Regions from separate parts of the Homo sapiens genome. Here all the other regions are linked to region 1. Evidence: promoter capture Hi-C in human tissues and cell types (Jung and others, 2019). All regions are on one chromosome and are shown on one strand. Each heading gives the region's core, a stretch centred on a gene start or on the middle of the fragment in contact. The rest is flanking DNA. Distances are from core to core; before and after follow the strand shown.

Region 1 (4,599 bases), core at 1,777-4,276:
CAAGCCCCAGGCGAGAAGCCTCTGGTTTCTCTTAAAGGAACACTTCACAACAGAGAAAGCCACCTGGTTAGAGGTTACACAGATACCAACCATATAGACTTAACAAGCATTTTGAATGCAAGATCATTTCATTGATGTGTAGGCACATATTAAAACTGGGAAGATCCCAAAAGCCACCTCTCCTGCAAAACACATTCATCTAGGAGAAAACGCCAAAGCATCTGTCCTCAACTACAGGTAACAACCTTGGTTTCTTTGCCTTTGGCTGAAATCAGTGTTGCAAAAGCCTTTTAAAAGAGTAAGAAAATATAGGTTTTTCTCCCAAGATCACATTGCCCAAGTGAAACAGAACCAGTGCTTACTTTTATTTTTTGTCTCCTGTTCAGAGGGGTCAAACATTGCTCATAATCTTCATTAAATTTAGTCCTGTGGCTGGCAAATGTTAATTTACTGGAATATTTTCCTTCACATTCATAAAGAGGGAAAACTAGCTTTGTGATCTGGTTGCAATCTACACAACACATAGATAATCCACAACAGTGGTAGGCGCAGAAAAGCTCCAGCTGGTTTATCTCAAATGTTCAGAATGATTTTGATTTCTTTACCGACACCACAGCCATTCATAAAGATTCATTGCCAAATGTTGCCCAATACCGTGATAGAGGCGATGGTGAAGCGAATGTCTTAGACTGGGAAATCATCATGGTGCCCAAACCTCAGAGTCTGCGGCCAAATGGTGGGGATTTGGAAATCACCTGTCACGGAGATGGTGAAGGAAACTGGATTCAAACTAATGAAGACTAAAGTCTTTCCAGCCAGAAGACGGTTTGAGTCCAAGGGGCCATTTATATACAAGAGCTAAGAAAGGTGCAACTGATTTTCCCCCAGAAGCAGCACGATTATTTTTAAGTTCAAAGACATTTTTGTTAATAAACTGCTTCACACAACCACATCGAAGCCAAAATGTGCCAATGAAATAATCAAAACAAATAGCTCAATTGGGACTTTTTGAATGTTCAACAAAAAGAAAAATTAAAGCTGGTTAGACTGCTGGATAGTAACGTTACAGTGTCTCCTTTAAGAGATCAAAATGTCTTTGCCACCCTCCACCCCACCCTACCCCACCTCTAATAGTGAAGTGGATAATTTCTGAAGAATACAATGACCCTTTATGCCTGGCTTCTCTAGTCTGCTAGGGATGCCATCTGTCTCCCACGCTATATAAACAATCCCCGCAGGAATCTTCTGATGACCAAACAGATTAGCAAACTCCAGATTTTCACGCCATTAATAATATCCCCATCCAGATTAGGCCTTTTATTTTAATAACTCCAAAGATAAAGTCAATAACTGATCTTTCTTTCTTTGTAGATAATGTGTGTGTCATTTTAAAGATAACCTCTTGGAACATACAGCCATCTGTTGGGAAGAGAAAGAAAAAAAGCTCTCTCAAAGCAACAGAAGAAATGAACCCTCGAGGGAATAGGAGAAATAGTAAAAAGAAAATCATATTTATAAGACAAACACATGGAGAGCTCTACTAATTACACTAAAATATTCTTCTTCTAAATGACAAACTATAGAACACTACTCCAGAAAAGACAAGTTTCACACTTTCACAAAGGTATATATATACGAAAACAGTTTGCGTGAGTCTAGGACAGTGAAAGCAGAAATCATAACCCAAAAGCTAAAGGCCCCCGAAGTTTGCATGCTGTCCACCTCTATCTGTAATGATCACAAATGTTTTCCTTCCTGAAGTTTAATATCGATTGAACCCTTGTAACTCTAATTGTGAGCTCTCTGTACTGACTCCAAAGACTTCTAACTCTAAAAGAAATGTGCCTGTAAAGATGTTCTCTAAATTAATAATAATAAACGACGAAAAGCACCCGAGCGCTGCTAATAGTGAAGACAAGGCATGAGAGAGTCAGACCTCTGCAGTCTCGCGTCCTCGGAAACGTCTACGTCTAAATCTGCAGCCCCAGTTTGCTCCAGGCCCCAAGCTCCAGCAGAGGATGTTCACGGCACATTCCCAACCAAAAAGGAAATGAAGCGTCCTCTCCCTCAACTGATGCTCAAATAGACCCCAAAGTCCCAGTTTCCCTGGAGAACCAAACCATCCAACACATCCTGGGCAGCGGAAACCGAAATGGCAAATGAATGACCGCGCCGGGGCGCAAGGGAGGAAAAACAAAGCCACCTCCCGCCGTCCGCTACCTGCGGCGAGGGCCGCGCGCTCACCTGGGCTTTGCGCCCGTCGCCACAAGCTGCGGGTGGGGACCCGGCCGCGGGGCGGGAGGGCGCCCCCAAAGTCGCCCGGACCCGCGGCCCCGGCGCCCTGCGGCCGGTCCGTGCGCGCCGAGGAGAAAGCAGGCGGCCGGGGGCGCCGCCGCGCGTTGCATGCAGCTCACGGCTGCTGCGGCCGCTGCCACGGAGCCGAGAGTCTCTGCGCTGCAGTCCCCGACCCCGAGACCGCGAGAAGCGCCCGGAGAGACGCGGCGCAGGGGCAGAGCGCGCTCGGCGCGCCCCTCAGCGGCTCTTCCCGCCGCCCTCCGCAGCGGGCTGGGTCTCGGCTCGCCTTTGTGCTGGCATCTTCCTAGCTCCCAGCGACACCCAGAGCTCTCGAGGCGGCTCCGCGCCGCCACCCACCCCCGGGTTACGCCACGGCCCCCGCGCGACCCGCCGATTGTGTCGAGTCAGCAGCGGCAGCGGGGACGCGCGAAGCCATGGCTCCCGCCCGCGCTCGGGAGGGCGCCGGGGGTCCTGCGCCTCCGGGAGGTTTGTGGCCGAGCGCGGCGCGGCCCCGAGCGGCCCCGCAGCGCCCGGCTCCCCGCCGCTCGCTCTCCAGGCGCCGACCCGCCTGCGTCGCCACCCTCTCGCCGCTCCCTGCCGCCACCTTCCTCCCGCCCGGGTGCCGGGCGTCCGCTCCAGCCGCGGTGCCCCGGTCCGCGGAGAGCGAAGAGTCCGGCCTCCTCACCTCCAGCCGCGCCGGCGCCCTTCCCGCTAGACGCTTCGGCGGCATCTGCCCGCACCGCCCTGCGGGACGCTGGGCTGGGAGCTGGCGGCACGTCGGGGACCGGTGGAAGGGAGGCGGGGGCAGAGGACAGGAGGGACAGCCAGACCTTGGCCAGCGGGACCTCCCTGAGGAAGGTGCGGAAGAACGGGGCGGGTGCGGCTGGGCGGAGGACGAGTCCCGAGGCTGCGGCGGAGCCTGAGTTGCTCTCCTTCTGCGAAGTCGAAGGACAGGAGGATTCCTAGAGGTGTCGCGGAGGGTGGAGGAGACCCTCTGAGGTCGTGCAGACAACACTGTTCCTCAACCCCACCAGAAAGCTGAATAGGGGAGTGTCATGCCTCGGTTTCCCCAACTGCAAGGGCAAGACGGTAATACTCATGTCGCACACACAGGGTGTGGTCACGATGAAAAAATGGATTATTGAAAGCGTTCCCAGATACTTTGCCTAAAGAGGGCACTAAAATTTAAAATTACTGTATTAATACTTTCGGCTTTCTGTTTACTTCTATAGCATCTTCATCAACCAGTCCCACGTAGGAGAAAAAGTAAAAATGCTAAAGTGTAAATATATTGTGTCCCTCCCCACCCACCCTTGCATCTGTCCAGATTTAGGGAAGATTTATTCAATTTTACAATTTAACTATATCCATATGGAGTAAGTCCCCAAATAATGGATAGCCATTCCTTTGGGACTTTTGAGTGTGTGCTCAATATTATCCATTTCTCCGCCTTTTCTGGTAACAGCAGTTCATTATTCCTATGGGAACTGCCCTTCCCCCTCACCCACAATGAGTCTTTGTGGCTCCAGGGTACTGACACCTCCCACCCTCAACCCCCAGAACTAGCCAGTCATCTTCCGGACCGCAGTGATCGGTTCTGGGTTGGGCATGTTGATCCAGGAACTCGGCCTAGGGCTTTGGATGTATTACTGCAGAAAAATAAGCTCTTTAAACTAGGATAACTAAATTGGAAGGATATAAGCCTACGGTAACAAGGACCAACAGTGCATGCCAATGAAGCCAACTTTGAGGGAAGAAAAGCTGCTGGTGAGAGGGTGATGTCCCACCCTCTCAGGAACCTCAGGAGGTAGATGTGTCTGCAGTGAACTCTACCCTTGAAGCCAATAAATCCTCTCTCTTTTATTTCAAGTCAGTGTCAGCTGTGTTTTGTCACATGTCTCAGAGGAGCCCTGACTTCTTAGTCCCCTGGATCTATCAGCCCAGGCATCACTGTTAGGATCCTCCACAGAATCAAAGAGCCCCACCCCACAAAAGGCCCAATTCCAGTTCTTGCTGGAAGAACAGGGATCCTAGAGGTTTGTTCCCACATGATGTTCTCCTTCACAACTTACTCAAATCCAGCAACCCCACACCTGCAATCCTTAGCTTCTTTGTGTTGATTAACCACTATGTTACATTCTAGTCAAAATGGGCCAGGTGCAGTGGCTCACACCTGTAATCATGCCTGAGGCAGGAGGATCTCTTGAAGCCAGGAGTTTAAGACCAATCTGGGCAACATAGTGAGACCCCACTAACACAGGAACAGAAAACCAAACACTGCGTTTTCTCACTCATAAGTGGGAG
Region 2 (4,135 bases), core at 1,417-3,916, 130 kb before region 1:
ATGTCTTCTGGAGAAAGGTTGGGGAAGCTTCACTGCAAACATGGTCTGAGCTTAGGCTGGTCACAGATTGATTACTTGGAGACCACTGCAATCAGCAAATAAGAGTAACCATATACTAGCATCAGTGATAGGGGACAAGGTACAATGACACTGAAGTGGGTCCAGATGGTCTTCTTTTTTACTGCTCTTATGGGACACTTTCCTTGAATTAGAGTAAGGCTGGCTAAGAAACTCCGGATTTACTTTTTTACAGATTTTCCAGAATATCAAATAAGGGAAATTGATCAAGCAAAACATACCAATTCAACAAAACTAGCCCACAGAGCAGTTATAGTACCTTACAGTAAAAGATGCTACAAATTTAAGCAACCTCGGGTTTTCTTCATTCTTTAATACACCAACACATCTAACACATGTGTGAACTATTCATTTGGAAGAGCCAAAAGACTATCAAATAAGTTTATTGCTTCATATATATCTATTCCTGGTATTCATATTCCTGTACCAAGCTTCAAGCAAAGAAGGAGCATCCAAATTAAGCCTAAGAAATAGAAAGTATCTGGAAAGAATCAACAGTGCCTAATGAGTAGGTACGGCATGGAATCAAGATATGAAATTCTATATGTTGAGCTGCTGATACGTTTTGGAGAGATACTACACATATGTCTCTGCTCTGATGTCATAAAGCTTTGATCACATCAAGTTTCAATGGCTTACAACTGCTTCACTTTTACACAGAATTTTTGAACTAAAAGGGCCCTCAGAGAGAATCTCGCCTGATCCATTCATTTTGAATAATACAAACTGACTTTCTTCATTCTGGACGACTTTTTCCAAGGTTGTAAGTACCAGAGCTGGAATTAGGATGTAGATTTCTTAACTACCTGCCCACTACATGGTACTGTCACCTCTTAACTATACTCCAAGCATGTTGTTCAATATTTTAGCATATGAAAGATCTTTTGAAAAGCTGTTTAAAAAATTACTTTTTAAGAATGTGTGAGTTTCTCAAATACACAATACTTTCCTCAAACTGGGTCAGAAAATCCAGAAATAATATAAATTGATTATCTCAGCCTATTCACAGTACTGTGCTATTCCTTACTACTACTGTGACCTTATGTAAGTCAACCACACTGGTCCTTTATATTCCCGACCCTAAAAATGAAGGAGCGGGACTATATGATTTCCAAGATACCTCTTAGCTCTACAAATTTTGTAAGTCTGTGATTCATTTAAAAATAAGTATAACCAGGTCTTTCACTTCTATTCTTCTTTTTCTCAGAGCATACTCATACCCGCTACTACACAAAACCTGAAAAGCATTATATACACAAGCACGCTATACTTAGGAAGTATGTCCAAATATGCCAAAGTATTTATCAATAAAGCATTATGGTATTTGATCTAAACAAATAATCAAAAGGGATAATAGCCACAATTCTTAAAAGTCACCATACTCTACAATACTGGGAACTGGCTGGACACAGTGGCTCACATCTGTAATCCCAACACTTTGGGAGGCTGAGGTGGGAGAACTGCTTGAGCCCAGGAGTTCGAGACCAGCCTGGGTAACATAGTGAGACCCCATCTCTACAAAAAATTAAAAAATTAGCTGGGTGTGGCAGCACATGCCTATTGTCTCAGCTACTTAGGAGGCTGAGGCAGGAGGATCACTTGAGCCCAGGAGGTCAAGGCTGCAGTGAGCCATGATTGTGCCACTGCACTCCATCCCTAAGTGACAGAGCAAAACCCTGTCTCTAAGAATTATTAAAAAAGTAAAATATTGGGAACTATCTCTTTCCTGTGCACTCTACCAATTCTATTAAATTCTACACCTGAAATATCCAGGCTCTGAAAAGGAAAGGTCTCATAATGCTGGGAGTCTCTGGATCTTAACTGTTTCTCTCTCTCCCTCTCACTCACTCACACACACACACACACACACACATACACACACCCCAAGGGGATGAAAATATGTGACTTCGCATTACTAGTACTGAGGCAAATCATACAAGACTCTAAAAAGCTCCAGATGGAAAACTGTGAAACCAGATGATAAAGATGACAAGTGTAGGCTGGGCGTGGTGGCTCACACCTGTAATCCCAGCACTTTGGGAGCCCGAGGCGGGTGGATCACGAGGTCAAGAGATCGAGACCATCATGGCCAACATGGTGAAACCCCGTCTCTACTAAAAATACAAAAATTAGCTGGGCGTGGTGGTGTGCACCTGTAGTTCCAGCTACTCAGCAGGCTGAGGCAGGAGAATGACTTGAACCCAGGAGGAGGAGGTTGCAGTGAGCCGAGATTGCACTACTACACTCCAGCCTGGCAAGAGAGTAAGACTCTGTCTCAACAACAACAACAACAAAAAAGATAAGTGTAAACACACTGGCTAAAACTCATATGTTCACATGACTAATTAACTACTAGTTGTTTATTAAGGATTTATTATATGTCCAGTTCCATGTTAGGTACTGCAGGATTTACAGAATAAGGAATGATTTGGTCCATGTTCTCTAGTAGTTCTCTGAGTAGTCCAGCTGGGAGAGATAATGCTAAAAAAACAAACAAACAAATCAGCACAAGAAACACCACAAGACTATACGTATAATTAAATGTTAAATTCTGCACATAAGTGATGGAGAAATTTCCAGAAAAGGAGTACCACTTCGGATCAGATTAGACAGGGAAGGCATCTTTGAGGCAGTAACACTGAGCTGAGTCTTAAAGCTTGAGAAGACTTAGCTGAAGAGAGATGGGAGATGTAGACTATGAGAAATACAGAAGTGGGCTTAGAAACTCCAATGAGCCTTAGCATGAGGAGAAGAAAACAGTTAAAGGGGGGAAAAGTACAGGTTAGAGTATTTGAGTATAAAGGAGAGTACTGGAGAGTGGTTTAAAAATTAGGTTGTATAGATACAGTAAAAAATAAAGATGAAATCCTAAGCCCCCCCAACCTACTGAACAGACCCCCTGTTAGCCAAGGGGACCCCAGAAATCCTTGAAAACTCAGTTCCCAACCATGACCAGACAGGAGGTCAGACGTGCCTCATGATGTCCCCTCCCTCCATAACCAACATTAGGATTTCCTCCGTAAGGATTAAACAGAAACCAGCCCTTTGGAAAGCCCCACTCCACCCCTGATGTCAATCAACCTCCTGAAACCGCCCCTCCTTTTTGTGGTTTTCAACAAAATAACCAACCAGCATTCCTTCTTGATAAGAGACCACAGACCACAGAGTGGTTCTGGCCAGTCCACGGAGGATGTGCAGGGAGGGGTTTTGCATCCTCTGCTTCATCTTTTGAAGTCAGAGATCCGAAAATTCCACCCTGGATCATGCTAATGCCGCCATAGTTAAAAACCATGGGTCCCCTGGTGAAGGATGAGGCTCAGCTGTGCATGCGCATGTTTCTCCCTTCCTAAATACACATGACTCCTCCTATTGCTTACAGAACACGAATATTCCTCCACCTCCTTCAGTGTGAATCCCTGTCTTATTCTTCTCACCCTCCAATTGTTTGTTTCTGGTCTCCAATGGAAGGCTATGCTTCCCAGTCTGTCAGAATGGCTACCCTGCAGGCTGCAACCCTTTATGAAAAATAAAGCTCTCCTTTCCAAATTTATGAACCTCATCATTCTTCAGCTGACAATGAGGCTGGAATTAAAAAATCTAGAAAACCAAGGAGTCAGACTTGATGCATTAGAGCCACTAACAGTTTATGGGGATGGGCATAATTAAAAGACTCTAAGAAATATCAAGTAAGACTTTTGATTGAAGTTAACAGAAGAGAGGCATTTTTATTCGACTTTCCTCCTAAAGACAACCAAAATAAAAAGAACTCAAAAAAGAACAGACTCAATATTCACCCTAATTAGAAGGCCATCTCATCTACAAGCCATGAGGAATAATTTCCAATGAAGTAAAAATTGAACCAAATTGAATGAGGATACAAAAACAAAACCGATTAAACCTTTTTTTTTTTTTTTGCATGTATTCATTTAGCTTTTTCTTTTAAAGAGCAGAGAACATATAATTTCTGTCTAATTTTTTGCTTTTCTCCCAGGGCAGGGAAAAATCTCAATTGTTTTTTGTCTTGTTTTGTTTTTGTTTGTGAGACAGGGTCTTGGTC
Region 3 (4,754 bases), core at 1,407-3,906, 170 kb before region 1:
AGCAAATATGCTCAGGAAGAATGTGAGATGTGGGAGTAAAAACAACTCATCATTTCCATTGAGGGTATAAAAATAGGGGGAAAAAACTAAGAAAAAGCATGATATGCAGAAAATAAATAAGATGTTGTAAAAAGTCCAAACATATCAAAAGTAAAAGCAGATGTAAAAAACTCTACATGTACCAATTTTAAAAGATGCTCACTTAAATTAGATTAAAAATCATAAAGCTTTACATGATTTACAGCAGATAAATCTAGAGCATGCCAAAGAATGGCTGAAAGTAAATTGATGGGAAAAGATACACTAAGCAAAAACTAACTGAAAGGAAGTTGATGTGACAACTGATAACAGACAAAACAGACTTTAAGAAATATAGCAGGATAAAATAATTGCATTATAAGTAACTTTATAGGTGTGTCCACTATTTAGTCCTTAAGAAAGTATAAAAAGCTAATTATAACAAACACGATAAAATCAGTATGTATAGTAAGGAATTATTTTGTGGGTTAGTAATGGTTGCAATCAGAACAAAGAATTTCTAAACCGCATGCAAAAGCTATCTTAATTCAATCACAAAATATTTACAATTATTTAACATTTACTAATTTTGGCTATATGAGTCTCCTTTAAGGAAAAGTGACACAAATAAGCATGGGGGGCAATAAAAATACAATAAGGGTAATGTTTCTAGAATCATCTCAATCTATGGAGAGAAGAATGCCTGTATCAAGTATCGCTTGCAGTCAATATGTTAAAGCATAAAATACACTAAAGCTTCTTTGGCTACACCAACCTATGCAATTTTCGAAAACCCATCTAATATCCAGGGGAGTCTTTCATAACCATTTTGAACATGTGGACTCCTCTGTGGACCAAATCTTCCACACGCATATTAAAAGGAAGATCCGTGATAGTCTGAGATACCAAGGTGATCCTGTGAATTCAGATTCCACTAAGCTATTTTTCATCTATAATGGTCATGCACTGTCCTTGGTACTGCCCTGGGTATGCCTGCTCATTCAGTCTCTGAACACCTTGCAAAGTGTATTCCAAAGTATGAGACTTTCTAACCCCTAGTATCTATTCTTGCAGTGACCATACAAGGATGCCTTAAGCTTTGAAACAGACTGGAGGACCAGACACATTGTTAGCAAGACATTCTACTATGGGAGAGACACTGATTGCTCACTGAATAGCCAAAGGCTTCTATGCATTTCCCAGTCCCCTTGCAGTTAGACAAAATTTTGCTACCAATGCTGAACAATGAGCTCTGAGCCGAAGTGAAATGTGTGGCTTTGGTGTCTAAGTATTTAAGAGCTAGCATAAGAGTTTCCAGCTCTCTCTTCCCCTGACACTTGCCCAAAGAGGTCATGTGTCCAGATGGCATAATGATAAAATGGTTGAGCCTTTAATAATCTAATATGGAAAAAATAAAGAAGGTGATGAGCCTGAGTCCCTAAGTGACAGTATGAATCAAGCCCCCTGCCAACCCACACGAGACATGCAGCATTAGCAATAAATAATCCTTTGTTCTGTTAAGCCCTGAGGATTTAGGGTTAGTAAATTATTGCAGCATAATCTGACTAGGTGAAAAGAATTTAGAGTTAAGTTGTTCCAAAAAACAATTACATGTTCAAAGCTCTTACTTTCTAAGAGCATTTTAAAATTTTAAAAATATGACCTAAAACAACTTTTCTTCACCAGGAATCATGATAAAATATCAAAAGAACTTAGGATCGGGCACTCTTAACTATATTTGATAGCTATTCTGAAGATGAAAAACCTAATGCATTATTTGTTCCATTTGATTGAATTTCAGATTAAATTGTGGATTTCCCATCACCTTGTAAAGCATGTTGATTTAGAACCTAAATAATACTCAAATTAAAATACTGTATTATTTAGCATTCACATTTTAAGTGCTTATATAATTTCTAGAGCTCTGCTTCAAATAAATGAATTTTGTTTTCCTTAGGTAGAAGTGGCCCATTGTGTCACTTTAAACTGGAAATCCCTTCTTGGGAATTCATTCAGTGGGTAAGTTTGAGCTGCAGCTTCAGGCTACCAGTAAAATGATTTTATTATTATTAATAATTACCAAAATATTAATGATAGTTTATAATAATAACCTTACAATCTGCCCAAGCACTGTGCCGAGCATTTTATATGCAATATCTCATTTAATTCTCATAATATTGGTGGTTTAAGTCATTTTTTTAAAAATGGAGAAATTCAGGTTTAAAAAGTTAAATTATCTGCCCATGGTCATTCAGCTAGTCATTCACTGAATTTACTAATGTGTCTAACTATAGCGCCTGTGATCTCAACAATTGATAACGTCAGAGCTTCTCAAAGTGTGCTGCTGTGACGGTCCTGGGTAGTTCATTGACAAAAGTTATTCCTTAACAGTTAATGCATGTCAGAAAGAAATATACCTAACAACGCAAACCTTTCTCTAACACTATTGCTTAGAACATTGTCAGGGTAGAGAGCATGTTTTGTTTTAATCAAATGAGTTATTTCACTTCACCTCCAGGTTCATCTATGTTGTCACAAATGAGAGGGTTTCCTTCTTTTTTAATGAATGTATAGTATTCCATTGTGTGTGTGTGTGTGTGTGTGTGTGTGTGTTTATCACATTTTTCTTATCCATTCATCCACTGATGGACACTTAGGTTGACTGCATATCTTGGCTATTATAAATAGTGCTGCAATAAACATGGGAATCCAGATATCTCTTCTGTATGCTGACTTCATTTCCTTTGGATATGTATACCCATAAGTGGGATTGCTGGGTCATATAGTATTTATATTTTTAATTTTTTGAGAAGCCTACATAGAAAACTCTTTTTATGATGCTTTGCTTTATTGCACTTCACAGATAATGTGTTTTTTTTACAAATAGAAGGTGTGTGGAAACCCCACATTGAGCAAGTCTGTTGGTGCCATTTCTTTTCCAACAGCATATGCTCACTTCATGTCTCTGTGTCACATTTTGCTATTTATTGCAATATTTCAAGCTTTTTCATTATTATTATGCCTGTCGTGATGATCTCTGATCAGTGGTCTTTTGATGATATTATTGTAATTGTTTTGAGGCACCATGAACTGTGCCCAAGACTATAAACTTAATCAATGAATATTGTGTGTGTTCTGACTGTTCCACTGACCCAACGATCCTCTTTCTCCCTCTCTTCAGCTGTCCTAACTCCTGAGACACAACAATATTGAAATTAGGCCAATTAATAACCCTACAATGGCCTCTAAGTATTTAAATGAAAGGAAAAGTCACACATCTCTCACTTTAAATCAAAAGTTAAAAGTGATTAAACTTAGAGAGGAAGGCATCTCAAAAATTGAGACAGGCCAAAAGCTAGGCCTCTTGCTTCGAACAGTTAGCCAAGTTGTAAAAGCAAAGGAAACGTTCTTGAAGGAAATTTAAAATGCTATTCCAAAGTACATACGAATGATAAGAAAGTGAAACAGCCTTATTATTGATATGGAGAAAATTATAGGAGTCTGGAGAGAAGATCAAAATAGTCAAAATATTCTCTTAAACCAAGCCTAATCCAGAGCAAGACCCTAACCCTATTCAATTCTATGAAGGCTGAGAGAGGTAAGGAAGCTGCAGAAGAAAAGCTGGAAGCTAGGAAAGGTTGATTCATAAGTTTAAGGAAAGAAGCCATCTCTATAGCATAAAAGTACAAAGTAAAACAGCAAGTGTTGATGTAGAAGTTGCAGTAAGTTATCCAGAAGATCTAGCTAAGATCATTGATTAAGGTGGCTACACTAAACAAATGATTTTCAATGTGGGCAAAACAGCCTTCTATTGGAAGAAGATGCCATCTAGGACTTCCATAGCTAGAGGAGATGTCAATGTCTGGCTTTAAAGCTTAAAGAACAGATTGACTCTCTTGTTAGGGGCTCATACAGCTGGTGACTTTAAGTTGAAGCCAATGCTCATTTACCATTCCAGAAATCCTAGAGCCCTTAAGAATTATACTAAAGCCACTCTGTTGGCACTCTAGAAATGGAACAACAAAGCCAAAATGACAGCACATCTGTCATTTAGATTTACTGAATATTTTTACGGAATATTTTGCTGAATATTTTAAGGCCACTATTGAGACATACTGCTTGGAAAAAAAAAAAAAAACTGCGACAAGTCACCTAAGAGGTCTGATGAAGATTTACAAGGAAATTAATGTTGTTTTCATGCCTGCTAACACAACACTCATTCTGTAGCCCATGGGCCAAGGAGTAATTTTGAATTTCAAGTCTTATTATTTAAGCAATACATTTCTTAAGGCTATAGCTGCCATAGATAGGAATTTCTCTGATGAATCTGGGCAAAGTAAATTAAAAACCTTCTGGAAGGGATTCACCATTCTAGATGCCATTCACAATTCATGGGGTAGACTAAAATATCACCATTGACAGGAGTCTGGAAGAAGTTGATTCCAACCCTCATGGATGACTTTGAAGGGTTCAAGACTTCAGTGATGGAAGTCACTGTAAATGTGGTAGAAATAGCAAGAGAACTAGAATTAGAAGTGGTGCCTGAAGATGTAACTGAGTTGCTCCAATCTTATGATAAAACTTGAATGGATAAGGAGTTCCTTCTTATGGGTGAGTAAAGAAAGTGGTTTCCTGAGATAAAATCTACTCCTGATAAAGAAGCTGTGAACATTGTTAAAATTACAACAACAAAAAAAATTAGAATATTCCATAAACTGAGTTGAAAAACTAGCAGC

The links. The method cuts DNA at HindIII sites, captures the fragments that hold promoters and counts their contacts. A contact is called where the count stands out against the background at its distance.
Region 2: a contact is called between a fragment that was not itself captured here and the fragment with the promoter of HECW2 in region 1, in 1 of the 25 tissues and cell types used here (bladder).
Region 3: a fragment that was not itself captured here is called in contact with the fragment with the promoter of HECW2 in region 1 in 1 of the 25 tissues and cell types used here (dorsolateral prefrontal cortex).

What each region holds. Positions count from the first base shown.
Region 1 is chr2:196,590,528-196,595,126 of GRCh38, forward strand. It overlaps HECW2 (HECT, C2 and WW domain containing E3 ubiquitin protein ligase 2), which reads right to left and starts at 3,027. Exons shown (of 29, transcript NM_001348768.2): 1 at 2,981-3,027. RefSeq lists silencers at 2,256-2,635, 2,716-2,985. The HindIII fragment of the contact is 8,801 bases long and covers 1-4,599 here.
Region 2 is chr2:196,456,510-196,460,644 of GRCh38, forward strand. The region is part of intron 1 of HECW2 (HECT, C2 and WW domain containing E3 ubiquitin protein ligase 2); the gene reads right to left. It overlaps LOC105373821 (a long non-coding RNA gene), which reads left to right and starts at 752. Exons shown (of 5, transcript XR_007087827.1): 1 at 752-838. The HindIII fragment of the contact is 4,797 bases long and covers 269-4,135 here.
Region 3 is chr2:196,421,085-196,425,838 of GRCh38, forward strand. All of the region lies in intron 2 of HECW2 (HECT, C2 and WW domain containing E3 ubiquitin protein ligase 2), which reads right to left. Among named protein-coding and RNA genes, the nearest start is that of HECW2-AS1, 160 kb to the left of the region's middle. The HindIII fragment of the contact is 4,313 bases long and covers 501-4,754 here.